6 separate regions of the Homo sapiens genome follow, and all the other regions are linked to region 2. Evidence: promoter capture Hi-C in human tissues and cell types (Jung and others, 2019). All regions are on one chromosome and are shown on one strand. The core of a region is centred on a gene start or on the middle of the fragment in contact, and the rest is flanking DNA. Distances in the headings are between cores, read along the strand shown. Region 1 overlaps KRT40 (keratin 40). Region 2 holds the start of KRT16 (keratin 16). Region 3 has its middle 5.6 kb from the start of KRT25. Region 4 overlaps LOC105371776 (a long non-coding RNA gene). Region 5 overlaps LOC107985072 (a long non-coding RNA gene). Region 6 holds the start of KRTAP1-1 (keratin associated protein 1-1).

Region 1 (3,239 bases), core at 1-2,500, 630 kb after region 2:
TCCTGATCTATGGTTTGCTTTATCTTTCTACTAGAAGGGGCTGTTTTACAGAAGGAAACCAAGGGAAAGGAAAATTCTAAGAGTTAGTGATACATAGGGGAGAGCACCGGACTGAAAGTCAGAAAACCTCAGCATCAGCCCCAGAGCTACCCCTGATTACTGAGTGACTATAATAAAGTAACTTGCCTGTAGACTTTTCCTTCATCATCTATAGAATGCAGAAAAACTGTATTATATCCAAAATCGCTTTTGTACGTGACACTGAACATTTACATTATCTGAACACAGATCATGAAATGCCATCTTTTTAACTACCTAGTAATCATTTTCTTCTCTCCATGAATTTCTATTATTATGGGAGAGGATATACTCATAATACAAACTACTGATGGAGAAAACATTAATGGTGTTCAACTGCCTGAGAATGTTGCAAAATGTCTTATGTTATTAAAAAACTAAACCTTTTTATTTCATTATTTTGTTTCTAAATTGGCTCTGCTTTTTTTCTTCATGAAGTGACAAGGTTAATAAAAAAAAGCAGGCTGAGGGTGATTTTATACTTTCTTATAAAGACTTTCAAAAGATAGCTAATGGCATAGCTGTTGGATAGAAGTTTACTTAGGTTTCTCTCAAAGAATCATTTATCACATAATGACTTGCTTCCCAGATCTTATGCACGAAAGCAGAGAATTCTAGACTTGCTGTACAGCTTGACAACTGCAAACTGGCCACTGATGACTTTAAGTCAAAGTAAGTTTAATTTAATTTTATTTTATTTATTTATTTTGAGATGGAGTTTCACTCTTGTCACCCAGGCTAGAGCTCAATGGTGCTATCTCAGCTCACTGCAACCTCTGCCTCCTGGGTTCAAGTGGTTCTCCTGCCTCAGCCTCCTGAGTAGCCGGGATTACAGGCAGGCGTGCACCGCCACACCTAGCTAATTTTTGTATTTTTAGTAGAGACAGGGTTTCACCATGTGGGCCAGGTTGGTCTCGAACTCCTGACCTCAGGTGATCTGCCCGCCTTGGCCTCCCAAAGTGCTGGGATTACAGGCATGAGCCACCACGCCCGGCTTTAATTTTAATTTGAAAATAACTTATGGCTCTCTCTCTCTCAATCTCTCTCTCTCACACACACACACACACACAAATATTCTCTATATAATATTTTAAAGTTAAGAATGTTTTAAAAGCTTGAATTTATCATTACTTAGGAATTAAGAGAAATTATGCACATGGCTTCCTGAAGTCCGTGTGTCGATCCTCCATGTATCCCCACACTTTGCACAGCGTTCAGCAAAGTAAGCGTTGGATTTCTCTTTTGCTGTGAAAGGTACGAGAGTGAACTGTCCCTTCGCCAGCTGTTAGAGGCTGACATCAGCAGCCTGCATGGGATCCTGGAGGAACTGACCCTGTGCAAATCTGATCTGGAGGCCCATGTGGAGTCTCTGAAGGAAGATCTCCTTTGCCTTAAGAAAAACCATGAAGAGGTAAGGAAAGTGGCAACTCCGCTGAAGGACTCCGAGAGTAACGTACTTACATTGACAGATGATCTGTTGATGTTTGTAAATCGAATTTGGGCAGATGTTGTTTAAGCTGGAATAAAACTACTTGAGGCAGGGCCAGGCATGGTGGCTCACACCTGTAATCCAAGCACTTTGGGAGGCTGAGGCAGGAGGATCACAAGGTCAGGAGTTCGAGACCAGCCTGACCAATATGATGAAACCTCATCTCTACTAAAAATACAAAAATTAGCTGGGCATGGTGGCAGGCGCCTGTAGTCCTAGCTACTCGGGAGGCTGAGGCAGGAGAATCACTTGAACTCAGGAGGCGGAGGTTGCAGTGAGCCGAGATCTTACCACTGCACTCCAGCCTGGGTGACAGGGCGAGACTCCATCTCAAAAAACAAACAAACAAACAAACAAACAAAAACTACTCGAGGCATTATTACTATTCAACCTGATCATTCCAGTGTGTCTCTGATTTAAGGTGTGAAATAACCCCTAGACAGCGCCAGAGGAAGGAATCAAACTCTTCTCCTGCCCTTGCCTTTGTGGAGGAGGTAACTTCACAAATGGCTTCCTTTGGAGGCTTTATGCCACCCCTAGCTCCAGTCCACAGGGTATGAAAATCAGGCTGAGGAACAGACTGTGAAGTCCATTTCAAAAAAGGGATAAAGACTGTGCACTATCTGGACCAGTGTTTTTAAATATTCCGCATTTATAAACTTCTAAAAATCATAAAATATACAGCCACTGATATATTGATAAAGCTAGAAAATGAAAAGCTGAATGATGTAACAAAGTACATTTGCTCTTTGAACGTTTGTTGATGACAATCATAGCTAACATTTATTGACACCTTACTATGTGTCATAATTAACTTTTATAAGTTAATTATGTGTAGATTGACTCTTCTAGATCTCACAATAACTTTCTGGAAAAATGTCCAATTATTATGTCCATTTTACAGACGAAGAAACTGAGGCCCTTCTAAGTGGTGAAAAGAGATTCAGCCCAGGCAATCTGAATCAAAATCTCACACTTTTACCCACTGCTCCAAAAAACAGAAGTAGAATGCCATTGGATGTCAAATGGATTTTTCCCCACCATTCTGTGACATTCTTTACACCATCCCACTTTCAGGAAGTCAACTTGCTTCGTGAACAGCTTGGCGACCGCCTCAGTGTGGAGCTGGACACTGCCCCCACCCTTGACCTCAACAGGGTCCTGGATGAGATGCGCTGTCAGTGTGAAACGGTGCTTGCCAACAATCGCAGAGAAGCTGAAGAATGGTTGGCTGTTCAGGTCAGTACCCAGATTGAAAAAATGTCAGGCTTACAGACTTCTGCCTTTTTTGAATTCTCTAATGGTGTCTGTGTTTCAGACAGAAGAGCTGAATCAGCAGCAACTGTCCAGCGCGGAGCAGCTGCAGGGCTGCCAGATGGAGATCTTGGAACTGAAACGCACAGCCAGTGCTCTGGAAATTGAGCTCCAAGCACAGCAAAGCCTGGTGCGTGAGGCAAAGGCAGTGTCCGTTGTGTCACTGATAAGTCAGGCCCTGAGATGTTAAGCCCTCTTCCATATCCGAGGATCACATTTCCTTGCCTTTCCCGAGTACTGCCGTTTACCCAGCTATTAATAGAAGCAGAAGTGACAGGTCCACAGCTTGTCCTCTAAGATGCCTTACCTTCACTCCTGGGCTTGAGTCTGATGCTGCAGCAGCCTCCAGAGACAGGGA
Region 2 (3,285 bases), core at 786-3,285:
CGAGTCTCTGCTCTCTCACTTTTGTGCTGCTTAACCTGGATAAGGCTTTCGCTCTCTCCAGTTGGGGTATTAATAGCCTTTGGTGACCTTGAAGACCATTTTCAGTTCTGAGGGTGATGGGTCTGTGGATGGACCAGAACTCCAGGCCCAACCTGACACCTGAACACTGAGGTTTTTGTCCAAGATTCCGGGGTCCCCTTTGCCCCTTTTTGGGGTAGGGGTGAGGAGTGTCAGGTTCCCTCTCCCAGGTTTGACTCTGAAGGGATGTGCATCCGTTCTGCTCTTACCTCTGGGATGAATGACCAGGGGAGATGTAGCAGTGACAAAACCCTGGTTCTGCTGAGACAAGGAATTGCCTGCCCCAGTGGAGCTCAGGCAGAAGCAGGCTGTCTCTGGGCTCCTCACCTCAACAGAGACACTGCAGAGCAAGGCCAGTGGCCAGCACCGAGGGATGCCCCACAGCACCCTGAGGAGGCCCCGTCTTGGTGCCCAGACCCCTCCATCCTCCCTCCAGTCCTCGGTGCTGGACCAGGCTCTCAGGCCAAGGCCATGCCCACCATGGGCAGACCTCCTGCCAGTGATCGTGGGGAGGTGGGTGAGAGTTGGGTATACTGGCCCCGCCTGCAGGCATGGTGGGAGCCTGGAGAGGGCCAGAGTTCTGGGTTCTAGTTGCAGCTCTGCAGCTTAAAGCAGAGTGACTTTGAGTGAATCTCTACGCTCACAGAACTGTATGGCACACACTGGGCTCTCCATGCATGCCTGAGTGGGCCCATAACCAGTGCTCTCCCCCAGCTCAGCTGGATGAATGGAGCTGCCAGGCCTAGCCTGGGATCTGTGGACACAGGAGAGAGAACTGCTGGGAACGGATCCCCGGCTAGTCCTGTTTCTACAGGGTAGGGGGGGACTCTGAGGCCCAGGTGGGGTCAGGGGTCATACCTGGCTGTAGTGGCAGGATGGGGCTCCCTCCCACCAGCCTGCAGGTGGGGTGCCTGTGATTAGGAGAGGGCGGTAGAGGAGTGGCAGAGCTAGGTGTGGGGCTGTGGTGTTCTTCAGCTGGGAGTGTGGGGGGCGCAGGGCCCTGCTTAGGGGTGCGGGATGGTGCCAGTGTGTAGAGGTGAGTGTGAGGAGCAGGTGGCTGGAGGGGCAGGATGGGGAGGCTGAGGGGCAGGGCTGGCCCTCGGGGAAGGGCCGGTGGGGTCCTTCGCGCATGTTTCTTTGTGGCTAGTGGTGTGTCATCCCCTTTTACAGATGAGAAAACTGAGGACCAAGGGGCTATAGGACCAGCCTGTGCTGTACAGTTGGTAAGGGCAGAGCAGGGACTCAGTGCCGCCTGTCTAGCTCCATGGCCAGTGCTGTTTGTATGGTGCACACACTTCTGGAGATCCCGGGGGCTCAAGGCAGCCTCTGGAACTGGAATTAGATCCAAGAGGGGAAAGAGAGTTATAGGATTTTTAGAACAGAAGGGACTCTGCAGTCACCCAGTCCAGCCTGGTCACTGAGGGGAAACAGGCCCAGAGGTGGGAGGTGGGGAGCCTCAGGCCACACAGCAAGCAGAGTGAAGACAGGAACTCTGCCCCTGCCCAGAGTGGGACATGTGGGATCCCCACAACTGCTCCCCAAGACAGCCCAGGATGGCATCACTGAGCTCTCTTTCAGCCAAGGCTGTCACTGTGGGGCAGGGAGTTCTTCTGAAGGGCTGACTCACTGCCTGGGGACGCAGTTGCCACAAAGCCACCTGTGCCAAGGCCCGACTGGCCCCGAGGGCTCCAGGAAAGGGAGCCTGATTCCCCACCGCCTAGCCTGAGTCACCACCGAACTCGCATTTCTGTGTTTTTCTCTCGGCCCCACACCCCCAAAGCTGGGTGGGAACTCTGAGCCGGCACACAGCAGAGTTGATCCTGGGCTGAATAATCCAGAGTGAGGAGTTGGACGGGACCGGGAGTGATGAAATCCAGAGGGGAACCTGGAGTCAGCAGTTAGGAGGGCCCCGCCTTCCCCAGCTGCATATAAAGGTCTCTGGGGTTGGAGGCAGCCACAGCACGCTCTCAGCCTTCCTGAGCACCTTTCCTTCTTTCAGCCAACTGCTCACTCGCTCACCTCCCTCCTTGGCACCATGACCACCTGCAGCCGCCAGTTCACCTCCTCCAGCTCCATGAAGGGCTCCTGCGGCATCGGAGGCGGCATCGGGGGCGGCTCCAGCCGCATCTCCTCCGTCCTGGCCGGAGGGTCCTGCCGTGCCCCCAGCACCTACGGGGGCGGCCTGTCTGTCTCCTCTCGCTTCTCCTCTGGGGGAGCCTGCGGGCTGGGGGGCGGCTATGGCGGTGGCTTCAGCAGCAGCAGCAGCTTTGGTAGTGGCTTCGGGGGAGGATATGGTGGTGGCCTTGGTGCTGGCTTCGGTGGTGGCTTGGGTGCTGGCTTTGGTGGTGGTTTTGCTGGTGGTGATGGGCTTCTGGTGGGCAGTGAGAAGGTGACCATGCAGAACCTCAATGACCGCCTGGCCTCCTACCTGGACAAGGTGCGTGCTCTGGAGGAGGCCAACGCCGACCTGGAAGTGAAGATCCGTGACTGGTACCAGAGGCAGCGGCCCAGTGAGATCAAAGACTACAGTCCCTACTTCAAGACCATCGAGGACCTGAGGAACAAGGTGGGTGACTTTGGTGTATGGAGCACTGAGAGAGGCTGGGGCTACAGTGGCCCTTGGGATACCTCTTTTTAGCAATTACACTTTACAAACAGGGAGACTGGGCACCTTTGGGGAGTGGCCAGGATCACCCAGGGAAGTGGTAGCAGAGGGTCCCTTTTCAGTATCTCTGTGCCCGGACTGGGGCTGTTACCCTAAATCTCTTATTTCCTTCAAGGGTTCAGCTGCAAGTTCAGCTTCCCTGCCTTGGGCCCAGGAAGGGGGTGATCGGGATGGAGTGCATCCCTACGTAGCCTGAGCTGGTGGAGAAGGCATGCCAGCCCTGCCAGCCAGAAGACTTCCAGATTTGGGGCGGTTCCTTTTGCCCCTTTCTGCCTTTCATGCTCAAGTAGTAAGGTCCTTGGCTGACCAGGGCTCCTGTCCTCCATCCCCACTCCAGATCATTGCGGCCACCATTGAGAATGCGCAGCCCATTTTGCAGATTGACAATGCCAGGCTGGCAGCCGATGACTTCAGGACCAAGTGAGCAGCCAGCATGGTGGGCTGGGGGCAGAGGGCAAGGGACAAAGAGTGGGGCGGTCCACCCAGCAGGGCCAGCAGACCCCGAGCCTCAGAATCCTCAGGGCTGCAGCCTGAGGACCTGA
Region 3 (3,053 bases), core at 64-2,563, 850 kb after region 2:
TCTTGGTCCCACAACAGATCCCTAAATAGCTCTAAATTTCAACCCCAGCCCCTCTCAGCTGCAGACTAAGCACTTCTGCCTCGTCAGGGATCTGCTGGGAGACACACCATTCTGTGTCCCCAGGGCAGGCTTGCCAATCTCAATTTTACAGCATCCCTAAAACAAACCTGAATCTGGGCCCTAGCCCTTCTCAGCTGTGGTCAGAGAGAAGTTCTAACTGCCCAGGAATCCAGAGGGAGGCACTCTCATCTGAGCTCCACAGGCAGCCCAGCTGACCTGGGTCCCACAGAAGATCCTGAAATGGCCCTGAAAAGCAGTCCCAGCCCCTCTCAGCTGAGGCTTGAGAGTAGTGCTGCGCACACAAGACCTGGAGACAGACATGCTCATCAGTGCTCCTATAGCCTGACCCACTGATCTTGGTCCTGCTGTGGATCTTGAAATGGCCCTGTAATTCAGCACCAGCCTCTATCAACTGTGGTCTGAGAGCAAGCCTGCCTGCCCGGGGACCCACCAGAAAACATACCCTTCTGTGACCCCAAAGACAGGTCTGAAGAGCTCAGTCTCAGTTACAGGCTCTAAAGCAGCCCCAAAACTCAGTTCTAACTTGTCTCAGCCATGGACTTGAGCAGCACTACATACCCAGGGTCTCACTTAGTGATCCACTGGGAGACTTTCCAGAGACACAGAAGAAGCCACACCCACTCACACACCTGGTAATGGCCCATCATCTACAGATCTTGAAATGGACTCTCATCCCAGTGCCAGCTCTATGGACCAAGGTTCTACAGACAGTCCAGTCAACCCAGAGACTACACAGAATCCACAGCTACTACAGCCCCTGGTAACAGACCTATCAACTATAGACCCCACTGTGGACTCAGCAATAGCCATGTGATCCAGCTCCAACCTCATTTGACCACAATCCCATCACCACAGGAACCTAATAGAAGAAGGCCTTAAACTGCCAAAAGCAGTCTATAAAGATTTAAAGAGGGCCAGGTGTGGTGGCTTTCACCTGTAATCCCAGCACTTTGGGAGGCTGAGGCGGGTGGATGGCTTGAGCTCAGGAGTTCAAGACCAGCCTGGGCAATATGGCAAAACCCCATCTCCACAAAACATATAAAAATTAGCTGAGTATGGTGGCATATGCCTGTCATTCCAGTTACTCAGGAGGCTGAGGTGGAAGGATCACTTGAGCCTGGGAGCCAGAGATTGCAGTGAGCTGAGATCACGCCACTGCACTCCAGCCTGGGTGACAGAGTAAGATCCTGTCTCAAAAAAAAAAAATGAAGGAGGTATTTGTGCCTTCAAATGCACAGATACCAATGCAAGACTACATGAATAATGAAGAATAAGGCAAGCATGACACCACCAAAGGAAACTAATAAGGCTCCAGTAACTGACCCCAAAGAAAGGGAGATCTACAAATTGCCTGAAAGAAAATTCAAAATAATCATCTTAAAGAAGCTCAATAAGATGCAAAAAGACATAGATAAATAACTAAATGAAATTAGGAAAACAATGCATAAACAAGATGAGAAGCTTAATTTTTAAAATAGAAACCATAAAAATAAAACCAGAAATCCTAGACCTGAAGAATACAATGACAAAACTGAAAAATTCAATAGAAAGCTTCAACAGCAGACTCTATCATGCAGAAGAAAGAATTAGCAAACTCAAAGAAAGGGCATTTTAAATTACTGAATTAGAGGAACAAAAATGTTTAAATAATAAAAAAGAGTAAAGAAGGCATACAGGATCTAGTCTATCCCACCAAGCATACAAATATATACATTATGAGGATTTCAGAAGGAGGAAAGAGAGAAAAGGAAAGAAAGCTTATGTAAAGAAATACATCCCAAATCTTGAGAGGGATATGGACATACAGATTCACGAAATTCAAAGGATCCCAAGCAAGATCAACCCAAAGACAAACACTCTGAGGCACATTAATGCATGTGGGGCTTAAAACCTAGATGGCAGGTTGATAGGTGCAGCAAACCACCATGGCACATATATACCTATGTAACAAACCTGCACATTCTGCACATGTATCCCAGAACTTAAAGTAAAATTTTTTAAAAATTGCCAAAAGACAGAGAGAATCTTGAAAGCAGCAAAAGATAAGAGACTGATTACATACAAGGGAACCCCCATGAGGCTATCAACAGACTTCTCAACAGAAACCTTGCAAGTCAGGACAGTAGGATAATATATTCAAAGTGCTGAAAGAAAAAAACCTGCCAACCAAGAATATCATACCCAGAAAAGTCTGGGCTTCATAAATTAAGGAGATATCCCCAAACAAAAGCTGAGGGAGTTCATTGCCTCCCTTACAAGAAATGATAAAGATAGGTCAATTAGTTGAAACAAAGGAACTCTAATTAGCAACATGAAAACATATGAAAGTTAAAAAAACTCACTGTTAAAGGTAAATATACAAATTCAGAATATACTACTGTAATGGTGGTGTACACATCACTTATATCTGGTATAAAGGTTAAAAGACCAAACTATTAAAACTAATTATAAGTACAATAATTTGTTAAGGAATACACAATATAAAGAGATATAAATTGTGACATCAAAAAAATAGATGGAGGGGTAGTAAAACTGTAAAGTTTTTGAATGCAGTTGAAGTTATCAGCCTAAAATAACCTGTTCTAACATGTTCAGTGTAAGTCTCATGATAACCACAAAGCAAAATTCTATAGTAGATACACAAAAGAGAAAGAGAAAGGAATCAAAGCATGCCACTAGAGAAAGTTGTCAAATCACAAAGGCAGACAGCAAGAAAGGAAAAAAGAAACAAAGGATCTACGAAACAACTGGAAAACAACAAAATGGCAGTAGTAAGTCCTTACCTATCAATAATTACCTTGAATATAAATGGATTACATTCTCCAATCAAATGACACAGAATAGCTAAGGGTACTAAAAAGGCAAACACACACACACACATACACAAAATCTGTATGCTGTCTACAAGAGACTCACTTCAGCTTTAAGGACACACATAGACTAAAAGTGAAGGGATGGAAAAAGATATTCCA
Region 4 (3,044 bases), core at 499-2,998, 810 kb after region 2:
AGATTGACATAAAGATAAAATCAGAATGCCAATGTCATTCTTATATTAAATATGAGTTTAGTTTAATTCTTACTTTCTAATACAAAAACTTAAATAGAAGTTCTGACACCCTCTTCCTCCCACCCAGTGGGTTGCCTGCATCTCCTAAAAGTACATACTTTACTTGGAGACCAGTGCTCTGTAGTGCTTAGCCCTGCTCCTTCCTATATTTTGCCAGTAGTTCTGACTTACATTCCTTTTTTATAGCAAATATTTTGATTCACCCCCTTTACTATTGAGAAATGAAATTCATAGGTAATATATCCTTCCAACACACAGTTTATCCTAGTATACGGAGGAGGAGCAGGGGTGGGTACTATAAATATCACATGTACAAAACATATACTTATCACTTCTGTGTTTCATATATACATTTTTATATATCATATATAGAAACTGGCCGGGCATGGTGGCTCACACCTGTAATCCCAGCACTTTGGGAGGCTGAGGCGGGCAGACCATGAGGTCAGGAGTTTGAGACCAGCCTGGCCAACATGGTGAAACCCCATCTCCACCAAAAATATAAAAATTAGCCAGGTGTGGTGGCACATGCCTGTAATCCCAGCTACTCAGGAGGCTGAGGCAGGAGAATTGCTTGAACCCGGGAGGCGGAGGTTTCACTGAGCTGAGAGCACACCATTGCACTCCAGTCTGGGCAACAAGAGCAAGACTCCGTCTCAAAGAAAAAAAAAGAAAAGAAGATAAAGAAACTATGCATGGGAAGTTTATATTATCTATGATTATAATCTATAGTGTGTAGAAAGGTTAATGATAGATGTAAAAGAAAAACAGAAGGAAAGATAACTTGTAATAAAATTATTTGCATTTCAATATGGAAATGTTCGAGTATGATTGTACCAGAAGATGTAATGAAGTAGTCAAATGATTGCATCTATATGCAAAACCAGCGAGAATGCAAAAAGGTACAAATGAAGAGAGACTGATAAACGTGGGCACATCACTGACTTAAATACAATGAGCAGCAATGTTGTTGGTGATGGGATTTTTTAAACAACCCTTGATCAAATTCTGGGCAAAATAAGCTTAAGTACAATCTTCCTTGATTTATACAGCAATTACATTCCTAAAAAAATTCAGTTACAACTTTGCACACACACAAAAAAAAACTTTGTGTTTTTACATAACTTAGAACTCGTTTCCAGATTCAGGTAATTATAAACAGGTTTTTCACTTTCATGAATAGCTCATGGTTCAAAAGTCATGTGGAACACAGGACAATTCCTTGATGTCCAGGACTGTATCATGCATTTCATTATGTCTGGCATCCCTCCCCGACCCCAAATGCCAGCAACAACCCCTATCATTATGATGACCACATGTGTACACATTCACACATAGACACACACACTTCCAAAATATGCCCTCAGCAGCAGTACCCCTTGCACAGAGATTGAGGACTAGGCTTTCATTCCTGGTGTATCAAGAATCTCTACAGCGGCCAGATACAGTGGCTCACGCCTGTAATCCCAGCACTTTGGGAGGCCAAGGTGAGCAGATCACATGAGGGGAGGAGTTCAAGACCAGCCTGGGCAACATGGTGAAACCCCATCTCTACTAAAAAACACAAAATTTAGCCAGGCGTGGTGGCATGTGCCTGTAACCCCAACTACTCAGGAGGATGAGGCATGAGAATCCCTTGAACCTAGGAGGTGGAGGTTGCAGTCAGCCGAGATTGTGCCACTGTACCCTAGCCTGGACGACAGAGCGTAGGAAAAAATCTTGTCAGCATGTCCCTGGTAACACCTTGGGTAGTCCTTTTGTAAATTAGATTTTAATCTCAGCAAGGTTAGGTCTGTCTGCCTTACTCATAGGTAGCTGTAAACCCACACCTAGCACAATTCTCAACACACAAGCTGAGGCTCAATAAATATTGGTTAAGCCAGTGACAAAATCAGTGAGTCACCTACAAGTGAGTCCATGGACTACAAGACCTCCCAAGGCAAATCCAGGGATGCTGGGGTTTAAAAAAATGGAAAAAATAATTCATGCCATCCAGGCTCTCCCAAGTGCTAGGAACTTTTCTAGCTCTCCATCTTCATGACTTTCTTCATGGTAAACACCTAAACTCCGTTAAAGACTGCCCCCAATAATAGCAACTTCCCCCACAGCGGGTAATTTAGGGGCTTGAGACACTGGATCATAACCAGTGACGACACTTCTAGGTGCAAATCTGGGTAGTGTCACTCAAATGCTTTCCAATTCACTCACTGGTGCTATTTGTTCCCCTCTTTCTCAGGAACCAAGAGAAGGGCTGAAATAAACAGTTACCTATGGGAGCTTCATAAAAGCTGCAAATGCTGGTGCAAAAAAAACCCCTCACCACCATGAACAGAGCAGAGGAATGGTGTAGCAGAAACAGCTGTGTCCGACAACGGATGAAGCTGCTGAACTACATCAAGGGCTTGGTGCACCAGCTCTTTTCAGAACAATCATCCCCAGCACCTTGCCAGGAGGAGGGTAGGGATTTGGAGTCCCTGAGACTTTAATTCAGTGGGTGGGATACATTCATTCATTCATTCAACAAATATCATTGAGGCAGGCAATGTGCTAGGCCATGGAGATAATAAGTTAAGACATAGCCATTCCCTGTGATACATGCCATAGAAAATGTACATGTCGGGGGCTAAGGACCATGGACAAGGCACCGTGACATCCAAATCAGAATGGAATGTCAGGGAAGGTTTGCTAGAAGATGTGGCTCTTGAACTGAGCCTTGGTGGATGGTAGAAATTAAATATTTCAAAAGGTTGGGAAGAGCATTATAGAACAACTGGGGGCGTAGTTACAAATACTACACTGAGGTACCCAACTTCAAAACTGTGATCCATGTGATATCTCTACAGAATCTTTATTTCTTTGTTGTTGTTGCTGTTATTTGTTTTTGAGGTAAAGTCTCACTCTGTTGCCACAGCTCACTGCAGCCTCTACCTGCTGGGCTCGAGAAATCCTCCTATCTCATCTCCCGAATAGCTGACACCACAGAT
Region 5 (3,367 bases), core at 631-3,130, 660 kb after region 2:
TGACCCAAAGTAAAAACCACATAAAGGTCCAACTCTTCTGTTTTCCAGAATGTTAGGGAGCTCAGTTGTAAAGGACCTCTCCATCATGTATCAACCTTCACAATCTTTGCGGCCAGTAGGAAGAAGATAGCCCTGGAGGAGAAGGGAGAACAGTTTGAAGTCATCCCTGTAACAGGATCACTTTTGTGGACAACTGAAATGACAGGGCAATTCAGAGAGGACTGATGGCCCTTCTCCTAGTACAATATCTGTTACCCTTGTCTCTTGTGGCCCTGATGTTTCCTGGAGTCAGGTTATGGTGTCAATGGAGAAAACAGCTGGAAGGCTTCTCCACCGCCAACACATAATAAAAGTAATCACAGATGCACAGAAGCCACAGTGTCTCCTAGGGCCAAAAAGTAGAAAGAGTAATGCTTCTTTCATTCAATTAAAAACTGATTAAATATTATGCCTCTAGACATTGTGCTACATGCTTTACATGAATTATCTCACTCAATTCTCACAATGGCCCTACCATACTATGGTTATTACCACATTACTAACAAGTGAACTAAGGCTTACAGAAGTTAAGTAATTTGCTCAGTGTCACAGCTAGTAAATGTTAAAGTCAAAATCTGAACAAACTCAAATCCTCTATTCCAAATGCCCAATCAATTAAATAATTACTCAAGTTTGAAAATGTCATACATGTAGCCTAATGAAAGCTATAAAGAATTAAAGAAATAATGCTTGTCTTGGAGGTCTAAAGAAGGTGAGCCATATCCCTGGTGGTTCAAGTGGTTAAGAAAATATTTTAAAAAGAGAAAGTGAGCCCTAAAAACACAACACAACAGTGTCCAGCCCAATCCAGGAAGGGGCAACACTGAACTCATGAACACCATCTAAGCACGTGTGGACTTGAGGCAGTTTTTCAACCTCATTCCTCAAGACCCCATATCCCTCTTCTAGTTCCATTTTTGACAAAAGCCTTCATATTACAATTTGGTTTCTCTAATTCTTAGGTACAACAAAGAAGGTGCATTGATTTGCAGTTGGGAACTCTGTGGTTGCAAAATGGATCATCTTTCAATGTTAAATTAATAAGTTTGCATTCTGTCTCTTTCATCTGGCACTTAAAAGTCAGGTTACTCTGAGTCAGCTCCTGAGAATCCCTTTGGTTCTGGTGCACTAATAACCCACCAGCCTAAGAACAGACATAGACCACTGTGACTTCACAAGAAAGTATCACCTTGTGAAGTTCTGCTTTGGAGACCAGATGACCTAACTCAACAGCATCTTCATCTCTTCTCATTCTAACCACAACAATTAGGCTGTTGGATTTGTGTGAAGTTTATTGCTAGAAGATTGGCACAGTATAGCCCTGCTCTACTAGATATAAAGCCAAGAGGTCTTGAATGGAGAAGCATTGGGAAAGTGTAGGTCTCATTTCTAACTAGTTCATATTCATGGCGAGCATAGGCTCAAAACAATGAATGCCGGATATTCATGTTTCCAACAATTTGTGGCTTCATCAGCAATTGTGGGCTGCCAAAGCTGCAGGGGACTTCCTGGTTTTGACCCATCCCAAGAGTAACAGGACACAAGGCTGATAGGATGAAATATCCAAAGTCCACCCCCAGGATTCCATTTTTTTTCTTTTTTTTTTTTTGAGACAGAGTTTTGCTCGTGTTGCCCAGGCTGGAGTGCAATGGCACGATCTCGGCTCACCGCAACCTCCACCTCCTGGGTTCAAGTGATTCTCCTGCCTTGGCCTCCCAAGTAGCTAGGATTACAGGCATGCGCCACCATGCCCAGACAATTGTGGTTTTTTTTTTTTTTTTTAGTAGAGACAGAGTTTCTCCACGTTGGTCAGGCTGGTCTCGAACTCCTGACCTCAGATGATCCACCTGCCTTGGCCTCCCAAAGTGCTGGGATTACAGGTGTGAGCAACCACACCCACTGCCCCCCCCCACCCCCACAGGGTCCCTTTTAAGAAAGGCTACAAATTATAATTAGAGGGATGGTAATCAGAAATGAAATCAAACGTGTTGGGTTCAGAAAAAAACAGAAGATGCTATATTAGTGTATTCAGGAGAGGCACTGGGAGAAATAGACAAAATAAGAAAGAGAAAGGAGCAAAATGGATATGTTTTTGTGGCTGCAGAGTAAGAAGAACCAAGAGGTCATTTGGAGCTCACTTACATGGAACAGAATGTACAGTGGGACTAAGATTGCAGGGACCGTGTCCAGCGTCCCAGTTACAGCACCGTCTCTTTGTAGTAATGACACAAAGACTATGTAGTAAATAATAATTAAGGATGAAAGACGAGCTGTGGACAAAGGGTGAGATCAGGAGGGAAATAGGCTTTGGTTGTAAATAAAAGACACATATTCACATTTGCCCTAATGATGGTTCCCACGTGCCGTGGATCTTCAGGAACAGCCTTCCTTTTATGTAATTTTATGCTTCTCCGTAAAAATTATTTGTAAAATGTTTAATTAAATGTGATTTAAATTCTATAATTTTCTGAGGTATATCATATATATTAATTTGAAAATTTAAAAATCCACCTATAATTTGCCTTTTTAGGGTTTATGAAATATAGTAACTATAACCATCTTTGCTGTTACGCTAATAATTAAAGATCTAGACTAAGTATGTGTATGGAAAATATGTTTTATAAATCACATGGAAAACACATTCTATTCACCTTGATTTAATCTTTGTAGGAGATTGGTCAGAGTGGTGGGAGAAACTATAGGGAAAGGATGCAAACCTTCTGAAAGTTCAGAAGGCTCTGCATAGCTTCAGGGGAGAATAAGCTGAAGGCAGCTGTTCTCTGATCCTGAGGCAGAGGGCAAGGAGTAGGTACAAGGAGGTGTAGGGGAATTTATCGTAAACAGGCTTGTTTACTTAGGTTGTCCAGAAACCGACCTTTGATAATCTGTGCACATGACTGCTCCCTGAAAAGGGGAACAATAATGTTAATTACCCGCAGATTGTGTTTGCTCCAGGCTTTCGGCATTATGTCTGTACTGAATAAAAGCAAGCAGCTTCAGCTGTTCGCAGCTGCTCTCTTCTTTGGCCCTAAGTGCCGGCAGACCCCTAGCTGCTCTTACACTGCACGCCTGTGTTGTCAGTACTCCCTTCATCCGACGCTCGGCCAGGGTCTGCAGGACAGACCTGGCAAATCTTCAGCAAAAATCCATCACCAGAGTTCCTACTGGATGTTTCCCCCACAAACACACAGACACTACGATGTTCTACTGCCACTGTAACAAAGTGACATGCATTTCATGGCTCAAAATAACACAAAACACGAATGTACTATCTTACTGTTCTCTATTTCAGAAATCTGACTTGGGACTCAGTGTACTAAAATCAAAG
Region 6 (2,985 bases), core at 410-2,909, 570 kb after region 2:
CCACTTAACCTCTTCAAGACTCAAGAGTATTCTAACATCAGCCGATGTTAAGTGAAAATGAAAAGTGCTCCATAGCACATCACCAATGTTCCCATTTAGAACTTTGAGACTAAATGGTTCTATACTCAACTCTTTTCCTTGATTAATCCCTCCTATTGCTACTACACTGATTTTTATACTAGAGCAAGATACAAAACAAATAGATGGGATCTTGCTTTCTGTATAAGCCTTTAGTGCTCTGGGCATAGTAGAAGTTAATAAATATGTGCTATTTATAATAAGAATGATGTCAGTTTCTACACCTATAAAATTAAGTGGTGGAACAAGATAATTTACTACATTTTTGATCTCCAACATTCATTGATTACATATAACCATTTTCAACTTCATACCTACAGTCATGGTTACCATATGACGTGAACATCTTTACTGAAGCTGGCATGAATCACATTGTGATATAACCCCATTCCTGTACAAACAAATGCCACCACCTCATAAAAAGCTAACTATGTGTTTCTATTCATGATTGGAAGGGAGAAATAAACCTACCCCAAGTAGAAATAATATGTTTTTGACCAGCCTTTTTTCATTTATCTCACGTAACCCTAAACTCCCAGTGAAAATTACATTCTTTCTTCTGGCAATGACCAGGAATTGTTTTAACTTTTATTTTGCTGAAATTTTTCTTAATCTCTTTGCATTTATTATACTACACCTCTTGAACTATATTTGGTCACCCATTTTCTAACCTGCCTTATAAAGCAGATAAAAGTATTTTCTAACTCTTGCTTTTTCTTTGATTTATTCCCTTTCCTAAATTCAGTTGTCATGCTCTTTGGTCTAATATCTTTTCACAGGACACATGGTTTAGTAACTTGAAATGACATAAATTAAAATTAAATTCTGCCTTTGAAAAATTATATGCCAGATAATCCATATACAAGTGATTTTTGTCTTTCATAGAGAAGTGTAAATTTTGTTAAAATATTTTGCAATTTTTTCCAATTACTGAATATGAATTTTAGCCTCTTTTTTAAGAGACATTGAAATTGAACAGGTTTTGTTTTATATATCCTCCTGAGTGATCAATGTTTCCTAAAATATGAATGTGAAGTTCAGGAGATATCACAGAAATTGGAAAGATTCCATTTCAGGGAAAAATCTATGAATTTCTATGAATATAGAGTTTATCAGAGTTTCTATCTGGCTAATAAGATTATATCGAGAGAGGATAATCTTATTAGTCTAAAAAATACAAAGCAGTCTTACATAAGGGCAATCATGATTAATAATTCTTTTCTGGAGACCTGAGGTTTGGTGAATATGATCTCCAAAATCACATCACCTTATGGGTGAGAGTCACTTTGTCAGGTGATATACCCACAAGTGCAAACCTGAAGCTGAAGCTCAAGTGGAAATTATACCATTGTTTGTAAACAAAATGTTAACATTTTTACCAAGGACAAACACATTTGGTGAGTATTAGCTGAGCAATAAGGAAAAATCAATTTTGAGATATATTTAAAACAATTCAGCATTTGAACCATCAGAGGGCCCTAGAAAGGCTGGTTTAAAGAGTAACAAGATAAAAATGTTGCTCGCCACAAATAGAGGAATTGGCCCAGACTTATAAAAAGCCGGCAGTGGAATAGGCAGCCATAATTCAGAAACTCCTCCAAGCAACCCAACCTTCAGATCAACTCCTGACACCATGGCCTGCTGTCAGACCAGCTTCTGTGGATTTCCCAGCTGCTCCACCAGTGGGACCTGCGGCTCCAGCTGCTGCCAGCCAAGCTGCTGTGAGACCAGCTCCTGCCAGCCACGCTGCTGTGAGACCAGCTGCTGCCAGCCAAGCTGCTGCCAGACCAGCTTCTGTGGATTTCCTAGCTTCTCAACCGGTGGGACTTGTGACTCTAGCTGCTGCCAGCCAAGCTGCTGTGAAACTAGCTGCTGCCAGCCAAGCTGCTACCAGACCAGCTCCTGCGGAACTGGCTGTGGCATTGGTGGTGGCATTGGCTATGGCCAGGAGGGCAGCAGTGGAGCTGTGAGCACCCGTATCAGGTGGTGCCGCCCAGACTGCCGTGTGGAGGGTACCTGCCTGCCCCCCTGCTGCGTGGTGAGCTGCACACCCCCATCCTGCTGCCAGCTGCACCACGCCGAGGCCTCCTGCTGCCGCCCATCCTACTGTGGACAGTCCTGTTGCCGCCCAGTCTGCTGCTGCTACTGCTCTGAGCCCACTTGTTGAAAACCTCCTTCTGCTGGGGATCCTGATAAGATGGCACCTTAAAACTAGCCAAATTAGAATCCTAACAATCTTCTGAACTCCAGTACCTATAACTGGGCTTGCAACCTCTCATCACACAGCCACATAAATTCCCTAGGAAGTAAATTCATTTACAATGGAAGACCAAAAATTTTTCCTAGACCTGGTTGTCAGCCAAAGTCCTACAATGTGAAAAGAGTTAGATACTATTTTACTATAAATATCACCTGAAATATTTCAACAGTTATTGGGACTTAAATTTAATAAAAGTTTTCATCTCTTCAATGATGAAGTTGTTGTTTGAACTTTCTTTGCTTTGGAATTTATTAACAATATTGGGGTACTGGGATTTTTCAAAATATCAACATGACATGACACTATGGTTTTTCTGTACTTTTGCTCTTTTAATGATGATATTTAACAGCAATTTTCCTTTGTTTTACCATTAAATGGTCCAATATTTTGCAGCCAAGACATATGATTAAAGGAACTTGACAACATTTAGGAACTGTTTCCTAAGGTCCTCTCATGTGCAAAGTGGTGGGCTAGGTATTCCAACAGATTGATTCAGCTTCTTGAGGTTTTGCCAAATCTATTCATTCATCCATTCATATATGAGGTTGTATACAATTATTTCTGTCCTCCAAGATATACAAAAGCATAATAAAAATTGTGAAAGAATACAAACACAAGATTACAGAGTAATAGCATGTAACGAATAT

The links. Contacts are between HindIII fragments. The study calls those that stand out against the background at their distance.
Region 1: a contact is called between a fragment that was not itself captured here and the fragment with the promoter of KRT16 in region 2, in 3 of the 25 tissues and cell types used here (lymphoblastoid cells, spleen and thymus).
Region 3: a contact is called between a fragment that was not itself captured here and the fragment with the promoter of KRT16 in region 2, in 3 of the 25 tissues and cell types used here (dorsolateral prefrontal cortex, mesenchymal stem cells and mesendoderm cells).
Region 4: a fragment that was not itself captured here is called in contact with the fragment with the promoter of KRT16 in region 2 in 3 of the 25 tissues and cell types used here (lymphoblastoid cells, stomach and thymus).
Region 5: a contact is called between a fragment that was not itself captured here and the fragment with the promoter of KRT16 in region 2, in 5 of the 25 tissues and cell types used here (lymphoblastoid cells, mesenchymal stem cells, pancreas and 2 more).
Region 6: the fragment with the promoter of KRTAP1-1 here is called in contact with the fragment with the promoter of KRT16 in region 2 in 2 of the 25 tissues and cell types used here (lymphoblastoid cells and spleen).

The regions. Positions count from the first base shown.
Region 1 is chr17:40,980,557-40,983,795 of GRCh38, reverse strand. It overlaps KRT40 (keratin 40), which reads left to right. Exons shown (of 7, transcript NM_001389244.1): 2 at 668-750; 3 at 1,333-1,489; 4 at 2,645-2,806; 5 at 2,886-3,011. It overlaps LOC107985072 (a long non-coding RNA gene), which reads right to left. Exons shown (of 4, transcript XR_001752886.2): 3 at 3,189-3,239; 4 at 1-1,468. Among named protein-coding and RNA genes, the nearest start is that of KRT40, 2.2 kb to the left of the region's middle. RefSeq lists an enhancer at 3,189-3,239. The HindIII fragment of the contact is 6,026 bases long and covers 1-3,239 here.
Region 2 is chr17:41,611,517-41,614,801 of GRCh38, reverse strand. It overlaps KRT16 (keratin 16), which reads left to right and starts at 2,035. Exons shown (of 8, transcript NM_005557.4): 1 at 2,035-2,644; 2 at 3,081-3,163. The coding sequence starts at 2,114. RefSeq lists an enhancer at 456-1,004. The HindIII fragment of the contact is 12,932 bases long and covers 1-3,285 here.
Region 3 is chr17:40,759,396-40,762,448 of GRCh38, reverse strand. No RefSeq gene overlaps it. Among named protein-coding and RNA genes, the nearest start is that of KRT25, 5.6 kb to the right of the region's middle. The HindIII fragment of the contact is 3,792 bases long and covers 1-3,053 here.
Region 4 is chr17:40,805,974-40,809,017 of GRCh38, reverse strand. The region is part of intron 1 of LOC105371776 (a long non-coding RNA gene); the gene reads right to left. Among named protein-coding and RNA genes, the nearest start is that of KRT28, 7.5 kb to the right of the region's middle. The HindIII fragment of the contact is 4,460 bases long and covers 1-3,044 here.
Region 5 is chr17:40,949,232-40,952,598 of GRCh38, reverse strand. The region is part of intron 1 of LOC107985072 (a long non-coding RNA gene); the gene reads right to left. Among named protein-coding and RNA genes, the nearest start is that of KRT23, 13 kb to the right of the region's middle. The HindIII fragment of the contact is 5,990 bases long and covers 1-3,367 here.
Region 6 is chr17:41,040,124-41,043,108 of GRCh38, reverse strand. KRTAP1-1 (keratin associated protein 1-1) reads left to right here and starts at 1,659. Exons shown (of 1, transcript NM_030967.3): 1 at 1,659-2,568. The coding sequence starts at 1,712. The coding sequence ends at 2,245. The HindIII fragment of the contact is 12,161 bases long and covers 1-2,985 here.